2 separate regions of the Homo sapiens genome follow, and region 1 is linked to region 2. The links are contacts of gene promoters, found by promoter capture Hi-C in human tissues and cell types (Jung and others, 2019). All regions are on one chromosome and are shown on one strand. Each heading gives the region's core, a stretch centred on a gene start or on the middle of the fragment in contact. The rest is flanking DNA. Distances are from core to core; before and after follow the strand shown. Region 1 overlaps GRB2 (growth factor receptor bound protein 2). Region 2 holds the start of FOXJ1 (forkhead box J1).

Region 1 (6,757 bases), core at 2,489-4,988, 750 kb after region 2:
ATGTACACGGATTAGTTTGATCAAAGTAACTACAGAGAGTGTAAGTGAAGGGCATTTAAGGATACACAAGTATAAATATTCGCAGATCAACCTCTGTATTTTTTAATATTTGCTGGGACTCTTTCTTTACTTTCCCTGTTACAGCCAGCGCCACATGGAATATCTTAGGTATGGCCTGAAGGAATAAACATTGGTTTGGTTTATTAGTTACCTGCAGCAGAATGTTTGGCTTTCAGAATTTGACTGAAGGACTCATTGTCAGACGATTTATTTTCTTTTTGATAATACTTATCTTGGTCTAATCTTAATATTCCCCACTGCTTTACTACTTGGTCCATTTGCAGCTATGCTTGATTAGTGCCCCAATTGTCAACTTTAGAACAAAGGAATAATAATCACTTGTGCCCCTCAAATGAGCTGCTGGGTTGTAATTATCCAAGAAAGGTGTCACTATAAATAATCTGTCCCAGTTCTGTTGTTTTCTGCTTTTGTTTAGCAAGTATGAAAACAGTGACCGAGCTAACCAGAACGGGGCTTTATTTTTATTTAGTTATCCACAGATCTAGGTTGTGTCCTATATTCATGGCTGGAGACGCTTCACTACACCGTTCATTGTACTACTGCCAGTTCCTCATCGTCTGATACAGTATCTCAGGGTTCTCACAGAATCTTTTACCTGCAAAATGCAGTTTGCATCAGTTTTATACTCTGCTTGCTCTAAGAAGCTGTGCACAGGGTGACTGTGAGAGAGACTTCTCTTTGACCTTCTGCGGGCACCATCTCCCTGCACTTTCTTTCCCAAACAAGATACTTGGCAGCTCAGATTCTGAAAAAGGGATTCCTTTCAAGTGTAGATTAGGACTTCAGCTCTGCTCCTTAGGTTAGTTAGAAATAATGTGGAGCTATTTCTGGAGTGCTGAGCCTTGGTCATTTATTTCATTCCTGGTGGGGACCCCAGAGTCTTGGGGATCTGCCGGGGAAAGGGAGCCTTATGCAAGAGCGTCATCCCCACCATTTCCACTGGTACACAGCTTGGAGCTGTGATCTTTCTCTGGTTACCTGAGCTTGCCGATCACAACATGGAAGTGCAGGGGGAAAGCCGCCGGTGCTTGTAGCAGTAAATGGATTGAAAAAGCAGTTCCTACATTTACTTTCTCCTGCTCTCCTGGGAGCAGATCATGGTTTAGTTTCGAGAAGAGTGCAGCAGCTCGAGACCAAAGAGTTTTGCTTTGCTTGCTCTTGACTGTGCAGTAGGGAAGCCAGCATTCTCAGAAGACCAGAAAGGATGGCGGTGGGGAAGGGAGGGAGACAGGCCTGTTTAACCGAGAAGAGACAGGTGCCATCCCCAGGGTGAGGCCTTCCTTTCAGTGGACCGTATTTGGTGCTGGAGAAGAGCCTGTGAGGAGTAAAGGAGGAAAGGCGGAGACTGAGTGGGACTCCAGCCGGTTCCTGCACGCAGTGCACACCCAGCGGGAAGGAAGAGGAAGTGTGTTCAGGAATAGCTCAGGCAGCTGTGCCATTGGCCGGCAGGCCTGTCAGTCGCCTGGGGGCCGAGGCTGAAAAGAGGAAGAAGTCGGCGGGGGGGGGCTGTTGCCTGGAAGGGAGGGAGGAGGGCTGAGCCAGGCCGAGCCAGGGGGCGTGGGGGCTGGGACAGCAGGCCGATTGGCAGGGCGGGGTTGCCTTCAATCCTGGCCACTGCTCTTAATCGTCCCTCTCCTGCTTCAGGGTGGCATTGTGTGTCCCAGAGTGCCGGAGCGAGTCCCAGAAGAGAGGCGAGGCTAAGCCCAGAGCGCTGGGTTGCTTCAGCAGGGAAGACTCCCTTCCCCCTGCTTCAGGCTGCTGAGCACTGAGCAGCGCTCAGAATGGAAGCCATCGCCAAATATGACTTCAAAGCTACTGCAGACGACGAGCTGAGCTTCAAAAGGGGGGACATCCTCAAGGTAAGTGCTGATGCCGAGCACAATGCTGAGATCGCTCTCCCTGTGCTCACCCACCTTCTTTCGCCCTGATTACACACAAAGAAGCTGTGTTTTTCATTGTACACTTTTAACATTTACCATCATATTTGTTCTGGAGAGCTTTAGATGCTGAGTAGAATATTAAATATGACTTAAGTGAGTTGGTGTGATGTGTGGTGTTTAACTGCCTTTGTGTGAATGCCTCATTTGTCTGTTGATACTGGTAATATTTCAAGTAAAGTCAAAGTAATGTGATTGTAGAAAGGAAGTATATGAGTAGATTGATTTGCCCTGTAGAGTTTTATTTTAAAAATAGCATTTTTTAAAAAGACCCAGACCTGAAGTATTTATGTAAAAGCATTCAGTTAGTCTTACTTTGTATAGCCAAAGGATTTTGCGTTCTGGAATATGATTTTGGTAGGTTAGAAATTAATTTTCCCAGTTTAGAGAGGTTGTTAGAAGTACATACCAAAACTCATTAAAGAACTTCAGTGTATTTTTATTCTTTGTGAAAAAACAAATGGAGTTCTAAATAATAAGGTGCAACCTGCTATTGTACAAGTCAGATTTCGACTTTCTTAAAAGAAACTTGAGGAGCAATTACCCCATATTAAACTCTAATTGCACGAAAAGAAACCTGCTGACAGTTTAAAAATCAGCTTCTATACCATGTGCAGCTTATTTTGAGCCCCACTATTTATGTGAGGATTCGCTCTCCCCCAGCACATGTTAATTATGTTGTTTACCCAATTGACTGTAGCAGTTTGCTCTTTTGGATGTGTAATTTATTTTAACGAGGATGAGTGTTATCAAAGAGTATGTTAACTTTAAAGGAGGAAAGGCTGAAGCTTCATGTTTGAGTGTTCCCTGTGTCTCAAGTTTTGACATTTTTCCTTCTGAGCCTTAGACTGATTGTTGGAATTTGCTACCTCATTTGTTTACTACCCCTGAATGAAATTCTTAGAATTTTATGAAGAGAAAGCAAGTGGAGATGTAGAAATATGGTTCTTTATAAAAGGACGTGCAGTCTTTTTACTTTTAAGTTATGTGGACTTATTGATAGTCTTTATTTTGCCCTCATTGCCCAAGGCGTAGAGTTCTACTCTGAAGTTAACTGCCCAGTAATTTCTTAATGTTAGAAATGTAGGTTGAGCCTCATAGAAGATGATGCTGCAGAGCCCTTTAAAGAGAAGAAAACTTTGTGTCTGTGTGTTCATTTCAAAGCTGTGTTTGTGACACCACACTTTTCGAGGGTATTCTCAAAGTCAACACTAAATTGTCAGAAAGCAGACGGAACCATTTTCTAGAAACTAGGTTTCTATTTTCTTGAACTAGAGAAAATATGCCCAGCTAGAGATCAGGGCAAAGTTAACTTAGACTACAAAATTCCTCAGTTTTCATTGGTGTATGGGAGAGGTAATTTGATGTTTCTGTAGGTGATTACTGTTTTCTGTAGATAACCCACTTGTGATGGTATAAGATGGGCTACTCAAATGCCCACATCTATAGCCTGTACAAAAGCCCTTTTGGGCTAGTATTTTTTGTTTTTGATACAAACTTAGATTTTTTCATAAGTTTATCTTAGAAACTTGAACCTAGAAGGCTGGTGGTTCATATTTTTCTCTAAATCTGTCCCATTGCACATTAAGCACTGAAGCAACAAATTAAAACAAAACTAGGGGCATGCGGTCTCTTTTTAAGAATTTTTTTTTTTTTTTTTTTTTTGAGATGGAGTCTCGCTCTGTCACCCAGGCTGGAGTGCGGTGGTACAATCTGGGCTCACCGCAAGCTCCACCTCCCAGGTTCATGCCATTCTCCTGCCTCAGCCTCCCGAGTAGCCGGGACTACAGGCGCCCGCCACCACGCCCGGCTAATTTTTTGAATTTTTAGTGGAGATGGGATTTCACCATGTTAGCCAGGATGATCTCAATCTCCTGACCTCGTGATCTGCCCACCTCGGCCTCCCAAAGTGCTGGGATTACAGGCGTGAGCTACTGCACCCAGCCTTTTTTTAAAATTTTTAAACAAGAACTTTCCCTGATTTCTGTCTTTGAAGTTTGTCCTAGACCTAGACCATGAACATTTTATAAATTCTTTAACTTAAATTAGTAAATTCTGGAGCAAGTGTAAAAACCTTCTTTCCCATCCTATTATTAGGGAAGAAGATCCTGTTTAACAGTCCCTCAGAAATTTTTATTATGGAGGAGAAAGTAAATCAGAATACTCACATTCACTTTTAGATTTTCTTTGAGGAGAGAGAAAAATACATATATGTGGTTCTTTTCAATTTGGTAGATAACTGAGATATGAAGTCATAATGCCATTATTGCTTTTGAACGGTGGCCATTAGCTGTTTGTTGGTAATGTTGTGGCTTTACTCCAAAAGAAAAAAAAAAGAGTGACGATACAGTAGTTGCCCTTTGTCTCATAACTGTGTGAAATGGCTGGGTGAAGAGGAGGAACATGCTTTCTTAAAAGCTGTTAGTTAAAAAAACGGAGTTTTCCTCATTTGATTCTTCAAGAAGTAAACTGGCTTCATTTGAATTGCTTTGATTTGGGACGTCTTGAGGGTATTAGTTGTAAGCCAAAACATGTTTTAAAAGTTGCTGGAATAGCATTGAACAATTTAACTTTCATTGAAATAGGCATATATATGCCTTCTCTTGATAAAGGAGACGTGCATATGGATATTGAATAAGTTTCATTTCAAGATAATGAAATAGGCACTTAGCCTTCATCCTCTGTCTATAGTTCAGAAGGATCACATCTTCTCCTGTCTTGGAGTTCCTGGTTAACTTTTAGTTAAAAATGGTGACTCCTCTCCTCCAGCAGACCCCTTCCCTACTTTCTGTCTACACATTGACCTGTTACTGTCCAGAGAAAAAGAGGAAAAAATAAAAGCATTTTACTGGAAGCCTAAAATAGAGTTGAATGGTTCAATATGTCTGCCTTTGTTTCTCTCTCTTATAAAAGCTTGTGTTTTTCTTGGCTCGGGGAGGGAGAGGACACTGGGATGTAAAATAGAAGGAATTGCCCTTCCACTGCAGGTTTCAGGCCTGGTGTGGTTGGAATACATCAGAATTCCTCCCACCATTGTAGGGCAGGCTTGAGACAGTCCCAGAGGTTCTCCACTGACAAGACCCCTAAATAGTCTACACTAGAGCACATAAAACTTACCTAGGAGTTGCAACTGCCATTTAGGGGCTTATGTATACATACTTCAAACTGTGCTTATAGGAATTAAGAGACCCATTTTGAGCTCTCAGATCTGTGCTCATTCCATTCTAGAGCCAGCCTCTTGCTTTCTTCAGCTCTAGTGGAGAGCCAGCCTGGATCATCTAGGTGTATTCTACCCTCTCTGGCACTAACTACCTTTACCAGTTTCTTAAACTACTTTAAAAACAGGTCTTGAGTTCACATTGAGATCTTCAAAGCATTCTGTCTCAGCACTGCCTGGCCTATTTCAGTGTCACACTGACTGAGCATCTCTTGAGCCAGATACTGGGATAAGTTGCTTTGAGAGTTGGGAGAGAAATATAAGATGTACTTTCTCCCTTCAGAAGCTCCAAAATCTCAAGTAAGAGAATTGAGATTAATATGTGAAACAGTACAAGATGGTATATAAAAATTTTTTTAGAACAGGAAAAGATCTTTTAAAATTTATTTTTATTTATTTTTTTATTTTTTTGAGATGGAGTCTCGCTCTGTCACCCAGGCTGGAGTGCAGTGGCGCGATCTCGGCTCACTGCAAGCTCTGCCTCCCGGGTTCACGCCATTCTCCTGCCTCAGCCTCCCAGTAGCTGGGACTACAGGCACCCACCAGCACGCCCGGCTAATTTTTTGTATTTTTAGTAGAGACGGGGTTTCACCATGTTAGCCAGGATGGTCTCGATCTCCTGACCTGGTGATCCGCCCGTCTCGGCCTCCCAAAGTGCTGGGATTACAGGCGTGAGCCACCGCGCCCGGCAAGATCTTTTAAAATTTCTTAAGTTAGACTTACTCTTTTACAGATGAGGAAATGGTGGCCCATATAGGTTAAATGATCTATCCAAGATCACACAACTATCATTCTTGGTAGTGATTTGTAGTAGTGATTCTTAGTAGTATTTGATGGTATACTTGAGTCGGGTTGCACACTGTAACTGCTAGAGTCGTTCAGGAAGGATGAAACTGGCAAGCGCTGACATCAGTCAGGTGTGTGCAGAGTTGTGACTTGAACCTTGTAGGAGAACAGGACGTGTAGGTTAAGAGAAGGAGGACATTTCAAGGGAGACGAAACTTGTGCTTGTTGTGTTTGAGATAGGAAGGCTGGAATAAGAATCTAGACTGACATAGTGGAAAATAAGGTAGAGTTGGAGCGAGGTGAGAAAAGCCCAGTAAGAGTTTGATCTGGTCCTTAAGAAGCCTCGGAAGGTTTTTAGCGATGAAGAGCATTGTGTGTGTGTGTATAAAGAATTGCAAGGGGGCAAGGCTGGGGCCCCAAGCCTGGATGGTGGCAAGTAATCGGGTTGTGTGTCAAGTGTCTGTATCAACCTGGGATACTAGAAATGAAGGAGGGGAGTGGTTTGAAAGATACTGAAAGCAAGAATCATGGGATTTCTGCCTGTCAGATAGGGGCATTTTAATAAGTCTCCTAAGAAAGGAATGCCCTTTGATTATGATCCTCAATGGAGAAGATCAGTGGAGAGCCAATCCCTAGTTTGGTTGGTTAGAGTTTTCACAAGTTATAAGTCCTGAGTTTCAGTGCACAAGTCCCATTTCAGGGGTTCAAATTACCTAATCTAAATAAAAAGCCAGGC
Region 2 (7,660 bases), core at 3,359-5,858:
CAGGAACCCTGCTGGGTGGCCAGTCCTTTCCTGCCCCGCCTGGGCCCCCACAGAAAACATTAACACTCGGCCAGAACGAACAGTCTTCTCACTTCCCCCCACCTCTTCCTGCCCCAATGAAAATAGCTCAGCAAGGCCCAATTTCCTTTTCCTGTCTATTGTAACATATAGGCAAACTTTAAAACCAAGTAATTAAAATACAAAAGTGGATCCCAGGGTAAGTTCGCAAAACAAGGAACATCTTTCATGTCCCTCCCTGTCCGGGAGCCACAGTGGCAGTGACTGTACCTAGCCCAGGGGGCAGGAGCAGGCTCTGCACCTGTCAGCACCTGCTTCTCTCCGTTCTCACACACGAGTGCTGTGGCTCGCACCGTCATCGGAGTCTCAGGTGACACGCATCCTGCTCCTTCCGTGCCGGCTCCTGGGCTGCCCTGCTGGAGACACCATCTGGATTTGGCCAAAGGTCTGGCTCCTGTAATGTTCATTTTCTCTTCCCCAGGTGCCTGGCAGGCTGATGACAATGCCGTCAGTCGGAATGCCCAGCGCCGGCGCTTGTCATCCAGCAGCCTGGAGGACTCTGAGACGAGGCCCTGTGTGTGGGGCCCTTTGGCTGTCTGAGCCCCAGCCTCTGCACTTGGGCTCCCCTCCTGCCCTGCATTCCATCCATCCTCACTCAGCTGCTGCCTACTGGGCATCCTCAGCAAGATGCTGGAGACTTTTTACCCTCCTGTGACAGCTGTTACAACCTGTAACCACAATCCCTCACCTCTCAGAGGGAACTGGAACCCTCCTTTCTCCGTGTGACCTAAAGCCACTCAATGAACTGCAGCTCACGAGACCTTTTGCAGGGACTCTGGAATGTCCTCACGGTATATTGATGTTCAGGTGGAGCTGGGGTCCATGGGCTAATTTCTTACACATCTTTTTTCTCCTTAGGGGGTAGAACAAGAAGGCTTAGAGTTTGGCAGCTTTGTTACAAACATCCCTCTGGCATTTCCTGGTCTCTGGCACATCATAACCAATTGGAAACCTGCAGTTTGGGGTAGGGCTGGAGGATCGCTCCTGTGGAAAGGGAGAGCCATACTGCACGGACGTAGCGTTTCCCTCTACAAGCACTAGGAGCACCTTTCTCAAGGACAAGAAATGGTAGCAACCAAAAGGTTGGTTGAAGGAAACAATCCTTCCTTCTGGTGGCAGAGCCAGTCTTCTGGGCCTCACATGCCTGTGCGGTTAAGAAGGAGCTCTTGGCCGGGCGCGGTGGCTCACGCCTGTAATCCCAGCACTTTGGGAGGCCGAGGCGGGTGGATCATGAGATCAGGAGATCGAGACCATCCTGGCTAACACGGCGAAACCCCGTCTCTACTAAAAATACAAAAAATTAGCTGGGCATGGTTGCAGGCGCCTGTAGTCCCAGCTACTTGGGAGGCTGAGGCAGGAGAATGGCCTGAACCCGGGAGGCGGAGCTTGCAGTGAGCCGAGATCGCGCCAATGCACTCCAGCCTGGGCGACAGAGAAAAAAAAAAAAAAAGAAGGAGCCCTTGAATCTGAGAATCCCCCAGTTAAGATGATTTCCCTTAAGGAGCATTTCTCCTGATCAGGTGCATTCAGGGAGGCCTGCAACTCCATCCTAAGGTGACATTTCAAGAAACACATGTGTTGACCACCTCTGTGTGCCAAGCACTGGGTGAGGAGTGGTCGTATATTACCATAATTCATCCTCACTCAATTGGGAGGTGGCATTCTTGTCCCTGTTGCCCCCATCTCTACCCCCTTTTGTTAATGGTTGAGAGAAATGTGGACCAGTGATTCTCAGTTTGGTGCCCAGGTCCCCAAAGGAAGTGATGGAGAGCCTTGAGCTAAGTTCAGGCAGCAGCATGTGGCCAGCAGCAGTGTGCTGGGAGCAGAGGTTGGAATCAGGGCTCAGGGCCTTCACTTCAAGGGCCCTCCCCAGCTACTCGGGAGGCTGAGGCAGGAGAATCGCTTGAACTCAGGAGGTGGAGGTTGCGGTGAGCCAAGATCGTGCCACTGCACTCCAGCCTGGGCTACAAGATTGAAAAGATCGAAACTCTGTCTCAAACAAAAAAAAAAAAATTCAAGGCTGTTTCCAAGGCAGCCTCAAAAAGAGCCTGGTGCCCAGGGGGTCCTTCGTTTCTGTGTGGCTGCAGAGGCCAGGAGTGCAGTGACTGTCTCACTGCCTAGTGGTTGTGGCTCACATCCTGCCCTGATGGAGAGGGGGGCCTGTCGTCCAACCCTCTCTGAAAAACTGCAGTAGACTTTACCATTTCAGGCCCCACCTAATGTTCTTTCCTTCCTTCCCCCTACATTCTTCCCGCCCCTTTCATAGTTAAGATGCATAAGCTGAGCAATAACCCCACTTCCTGATTTCCCTGAAATATGAGCCCAGAAGCAGCAGGTGACAGGGAGCTTCCCTTACCCTGGGGTGGTGGCACACAGACCACCTCCTGTCCTGTCCCCTGCAGGTAGTATTCACAGTGTGGTGTTACCTGGGAGGAGGGAGGAAGGAGCTGAGATGAAGGAGATTCAGGTAAACAGTAGCCACAGTGGCCAGGACCCCCTTCCTGAGGATCCCTGTCCTTCCTCGCAGCAGGTGCTTAGTCCTCTCCTAGGGAGAAGCACGGAAAGATTCCTCAAGGCCTCAGTCCCATGTCCAAGGCATACCTAGGTTAGAAATGTCCTTTACTTGTTTCTCAGTTACTATTTCTCCTCTTCCTCCCTCCCCCTGCCTTCTCTTGGCTGTCATTTAGCTCTCTGGCCCACAGAAATACTCCATCCAAGGAGCTGGTCCTCAGTCAGCCTGATGAGGACAGGTCAGTGGCCAACCCTTTTGCCCCAGTCCTTCATCTGGAGACAGTCACATAGTCACGTCAACAGTTCACCCAAAGAGAAGAGGTGGGGCCTGGCTTCTCCCACAGGGCACAGCCTAACTATGGAGACCCAGGGCTCCTTCCTGCTGCACTAGGCCTGTGCTCTCCCTATTGCCTTCAGGTGGTGTGATCCCGGCTTCCTCACAGAGCCCTTTTTTCCTTCTGCCCAGCTCCATCCCACCAGAGTTTCTACCCCCGCTGAGGCATCTCCTGGGCACAGACCACCACACTCTAAGCCGGCTGGCCTGGGAGTTAGGGTCCTGCCCACCTCACCTGGGAGTTGGGGTCCTGCCCACCTGGAGTTTAGCACGCTGGTCGCTCACTTTGCTTTGGTCTGCACACCTGGTGTGTGCATGTGTATACTGCTTGTGCCATCTGTGTACCCCTCTCCCTGGAGTACACTTGTGGTCACACTACAGTGGGGACATCAAGAATGCAATATTTATGGATTGCTGCATGATTCTTAAAAATGAATAAAACTGTTTACAAGGGAAGGAGAGCTAACTGCAAAGTGAGCTTATCTGTGAAAGTTTCTGTCTGACTTTCGCCAGCACTCTTTAATACTTTTACTCAAGAGGATCTGGAGTTGGAGGAGTGGGAGAGGCAAGGGCTAGGGAAAGGCATGTTGGCGGGGGAGTGATGCGCCATAGCCGGGCCTTCTTCATGGTCTGGGCACCAGCCTCCCCGACCCCGGCTCTCCAGCTCCTGGGCAGAGGCGGGGTAATCAACCCAGCCCCCACCACTGCCTCTGCAGCCGCCTTAAACCGGAGAACGTCCAACCCTGCAGCTCCTCAATAATTAAAGAGCAGGAAAGCTGGTGACAGGAGGGAGGCCAGGGGAAGGGAGGAGGAAGGGACACAGTCCCCAGAGTCCCTCTACTCTTAATCCCTGTGACTTAAAGGTTGGTGAAATTAATTGGGCAAATGACCCCGCTAGGAGAATTTGACAAGTCCATGACTTCAGAGTTTTACCCACGGGCTCTGCTTCATCAGCTGTCTCCAGAGGAGTGAGTGCGCTTCTGCAGAAGCCTCTGGAATGTCAGCTTCCTGGAACCTCGAGGATACGGGTGGGGAAGGAGCTGCTTACTGGGACACACTGGATTACCCTACCCCCTTGGTGTGTCTGCCGCCTCTGTGGATGTAAGCGGCAGGTGGCATCGGAAAGTCAGACCTGCCTGGGACACCAGAGAAAGACCCTAAGAGTCGGGGGAGAGGGAAAGGCTGCAGAAACATGAGAAAGTGCCACTCGTAGCGGAGAGGAAAGAAAACCTCAAGGATACGGTTCCCGAGCCTGAGCCCGCTCCCAGCCTTAGCCCCCCAACCCCAGGCTCCGTCCCAGGAGCAGTCGACGCCTCAAAGCGTACGGGACAGGAAGGGGGTGGGGGCGAGAGTCTTGGTTCCCCAGAACGAACGGATCCATAGCGGTTCCCGGTGCCGCAGGCCGCGCGCTTCTCCGACCCCAGCGCGGGGCCCTCGGGCGGGAATGAGCCGAGCCGGGACTTAGCGGCGGGTAGGGGGTTGGGTGGCGCGGGAGAGGGCGGCAGAAGGAGGGAGTTCGAAGAGAGTTGCCGCCAGGGAGAGTGGCAAGTGCCCGCGGTCTCCTTGGAGACGTGCTGGCCAATGGCAGAGGCGGAAGCTGTTTATGGGGGCGGAGCGTCGCCATGGCAGCAGGAGAAGCCTTTGGAGCGGCTACTTAATGCCGGTCCCGGGGCCGCGGTAGCTCAGAGAAGCGCCGTCGGGCGGGGGGGCGGCAAGAGGCGCTGGCAGGGCCCCCGAGCTGGGGGCAGAGAGCCGCAGGGGGTGGGAGCAACTTCTTCCAGAACCTTCCTCTGGCCCGGGCTGCGCTCTGAGCCAGGTAAGGGATGGGGAGGGCTGCAGGCCAGGGGGAAGGGTGGGCAACGGTACCAACCCGCTCTCTCATTCGTCCTTAACGGAAGTGGTGGGCCCAGGGACTGACATCGGAGAAGTCTGGGGGAAACTCGCCTCCTGCCCCCCGTTACTGTTCCGTCCCCTTCCTTCCCAATGATCCCCTATCATAATATTCCTTTTCAAGGATCAGAGGACCTCCACCGCCCCCGCCCCGTCGTACCGCCCTCCCAAACTTCTCGCCCCACTTCCATTTGTTGCGAGGAGGAAGGGGGTCCTGATTTCCTGCTCTTCGGGAGAAAAGGATAGCCTCGGATGCCCCTACCCTCTTCATTTGGCTAATAAAACCTCGAAGAGGAAAGGAAGAGGGAGGCAGATCTGATGGGGGTGGGACCCCAGGGCCTTGCTTCTGTTTCCCATACCTCGGCACTAAAAGATCCTCCCCAGCTGCGGGGATGATGTTAGAGAGGGCGTCCCCGTACACACACTGTCCCCTCGGGGGTGGGGTAGTGCTCAGCTCCCACCGTGGTCCTCGCAGGCACCACATACTTATTCGGAGGAGGCGCCCCCGGGGTCGCGAGATGGAAGCGCGCGTCCGGGAGGCCGTGTAACGGGAGCTGCGGGACTCAGCGGGCCAGAGAGCGCGGCGGGCCACCCCCGGCTCAGCCCGTGGATGCTGACCGCCCCCTCGGAGAGTCCCCGCAGACATGGCGGAGAGCTGGCTGCGCCTCTCGGGAGCCGGGCCGGCGGAGGAGGCCGGGCCGGAGGGCGGCCTGGAGGAGCCCGACGCCCTGGATGACAGCCTGACCAGCCTGCAGTGGCTGCAGGAATTCTCCATTCTCAACGCCAAGGCCCCCGCCCTGCCCCCGGGGGGCACCGACCCCCACGGCTACCACCAGGTGCCAGGTTCAGCGGCGCCCGGGTCCCCCCTGGCGGCCGACCCCGCCTGCCTGGGGCAGCCACACACGCCGGGCAAGCCCACGTCGTCGTGCACGTCGCGGAGCGCGCCCCCGGGGCTGCAGGCCCCACCCCCCGACGACGTGGACTACGCCACCAATCCGCACGTGAAGCCTCCCTACTCGTATGCCACGCTCATCTGCATGGCCATGCAGGCCAGCAAGGCCACCAAGATCACCCTGTCGGCCATCTACAAGTGGATCACGGACAACTTCTGCTACTTCCGCCACGCAGATCCCACCTGGCAGGTAGAGGAGGCACGGGCGGCGGCCGCTCCCTCCCCATTCCCTCCTCGCTCCCCACGCTGCACTGGATTCATATCCCAAATCTGCAGGCCAAGTAGGCTCTGCGGTGCGGCCAGCGCCCCAGAAGGGAGCCCTGCAAAGGAGCCCAGTTCTTGCAACTGCCCCTCCTTTGACTTCCAGAGAGAGAGAGAGAGAGAAGGGAGAATGTCCAGAGGTGGAGGGCTTTAGGGGTGCAGAGGCTGAGATTCAAGGGGAAATAACCTGCCATTCATCCAGCAGGCCCAGGCCAAAGACCAGGGCTAGACTCTGCGTGGACAGAATCTCCTTGGGGAGAGCGATGAACTGAAGGCGCATTCTTGTCCCAAGTCCTAGAATTCCTAGACACTGCCCTGCCCCGGGATGGTTTGTCGGGGCCGGGAGTCAGAAACGGAAACTGGAACGTGGCCTCCCTGCCAGGCTCTACGTCCTGCCCTTTTGCAGTTGGCTTGGGGAGGGTGGAATGGAAGGGGTGCCTTAGCATGTGAGGGCCAGGTGTGTCCCAATGGAGGGTGGAGGGGGTAAGGGGCCTTCCTAAAGCTGCTGTCCCAGCCCCCCACCTCAACCTCTGCTCAGTTTCCTGCCTCCAACCCCCGCTGTCAGCCAACCTCCCTGGGGGGACAATTACCTGAGCCAGGTGCCTTCCACTGGGGCTCTGCCTACCACACTCACTTCGTGTTCCACGTCTCTGGAACCAGGCACTGAGCAGCCAAGGGGCCCAGGCCACCATGTAAACATCCCAGCCTTGCTGCCGGGCATTATCCACCCACCTGCCCTGCCGTCCCAGCCCAGGACCCCTGTCCCCCAGCAGGCTTTGGACAAGATTAAGCACCTAAGAATGGACAAGGCAGGAGGATGGTGGATTTGAGGCTGGGTAGGCAGTGCCCTAAGAGTCTTCAGCCATCACCATCAAGGGCTAGTTGGAGTCAGGGGCCCCCCAAGGACGCCCAGACTCTTCCCTGAAGCACCCAAAGCGGGCAGGCCACAGGACCGCAGTCCCAAGCCATTTCCAATGCCCCTGACCCTAGAGCAGGGTCATTTGCAGCTGCACCGAAAAAGCAGAGACCCTCAGCCCCACCCTACCCTAAGCCTGTGCAGCTGCGCTTCGAGAAACGGGCCCCAGGAATGAGTGCTATGCTCTTAGCTCTTGGCTGGGTAATAATCAACTGAGCCTGGAGTGGGGGGAGGGGGCCGTGGGGGGTGAAGGCCCAGGCCAGCAGCCGGCTCAACAAACAAGGAAAGTCATCAGATCCCCCACCTCTCATCCCTGCGCGCTCTCTCTCTCTCTCCCCCTTCCTCTCCACTCTCGGCTGCCCAGCCCCCTCCCTGGACCCACTCACTCACAGAGAGGGCCAGCCAGGCCCAGGCAAAGGGAGACGGTGGTCCAGGCCCTGGGGGAGCCGAGGGCTTTGGCCAGAGGCTGTCAGCGGCAGGGTGAGGGAGGGAGGGCAGGCGACGGGGGTGGCACCGAGAGCCACCCTGCGGCTCAGAGCTCGGATGACTGAGCAGGCAGATATCCCGGCAACAGGGAACAAAAGCCTCCGACAGCACTCCGGGCTCCCAGTGCCCTGTGGCTGGTGTCCCAGAGCTGCAGCCGCCTGGGCAGACCAGTGTGTCTGTCCCCCCCTCCTCTCCCCTGCCAGAGAAAAGATGGGGGGTGCGCAGCAGCGCC

The links. Contacts are between HindIII fragments. The study calls those that stand out against the background at their distance.
Region 1: a contact is called between a fragment that was not itself captured here and the fragment with the promoter of FOXJ1 in region 2, in 2 of the 25 tissues and cell types used here (dorsolateral prefrontal cortex and pancreas).

The regions. Positions count from the first base shown.
Region 1 is chr17:75,388,734-75,395,490 of GRCh38, reverse strand. GRB2 (growth factor receptor bound protein 2) reads left to right here. Exons shown (of 6, transcript NM_002086.5): 2 at 1,726-1,940. The coding sequence starts at 1,863. LOC124904060 (a long non-coding RNA gene) reads right to left here and starts at 1,428. Exons shown (of 2, transcript XR_007065909.1): 1 at 1,060-1,428; 2 at 79-676. RefSeq lists enhancers at 557-1,465, 1,408-1,507. The HindIII fragment of the contact is 6,103 bases long and covers 687-6,757 here.
Region 2 is chr17:76,138,193-76,145,852 of GRCh38, reverse strand. FOXJ1 (forkhead box J1) reads left to right here and starts at 4,608. Exons shown (of 3, transcript NM_001454.4): 1 at 4,608-4,739; 2 at 5,289-5,955. The coding sequence starts at 5,458. It overlaps RNF157 (ring finger protein 157), which reads left to right. Exons shown (of 19, transcript NM_052916.3): 19 at 500-3,379. The coding sequence ends at 618. RNF157-AS1 (RNF157 antisense RNA 1) reads right to left here and starts at 5,297. Exons shown (of 8, transcript NR_040017.1): 1 at 5,173-5,297; 2 at 2,505-2,623; 3 at 767-931; 4 at 289-431. RefSeq lists enhancers at 176-355, 1-471, 446-505, 472-1,020, 6,182-6,841 and 1 more and silencers at 4,613-4,772, 5,451-5,520, 5,581-5,770. The HindIII fragment of the contact is 16,722 bases long and covers 1-7,660 here.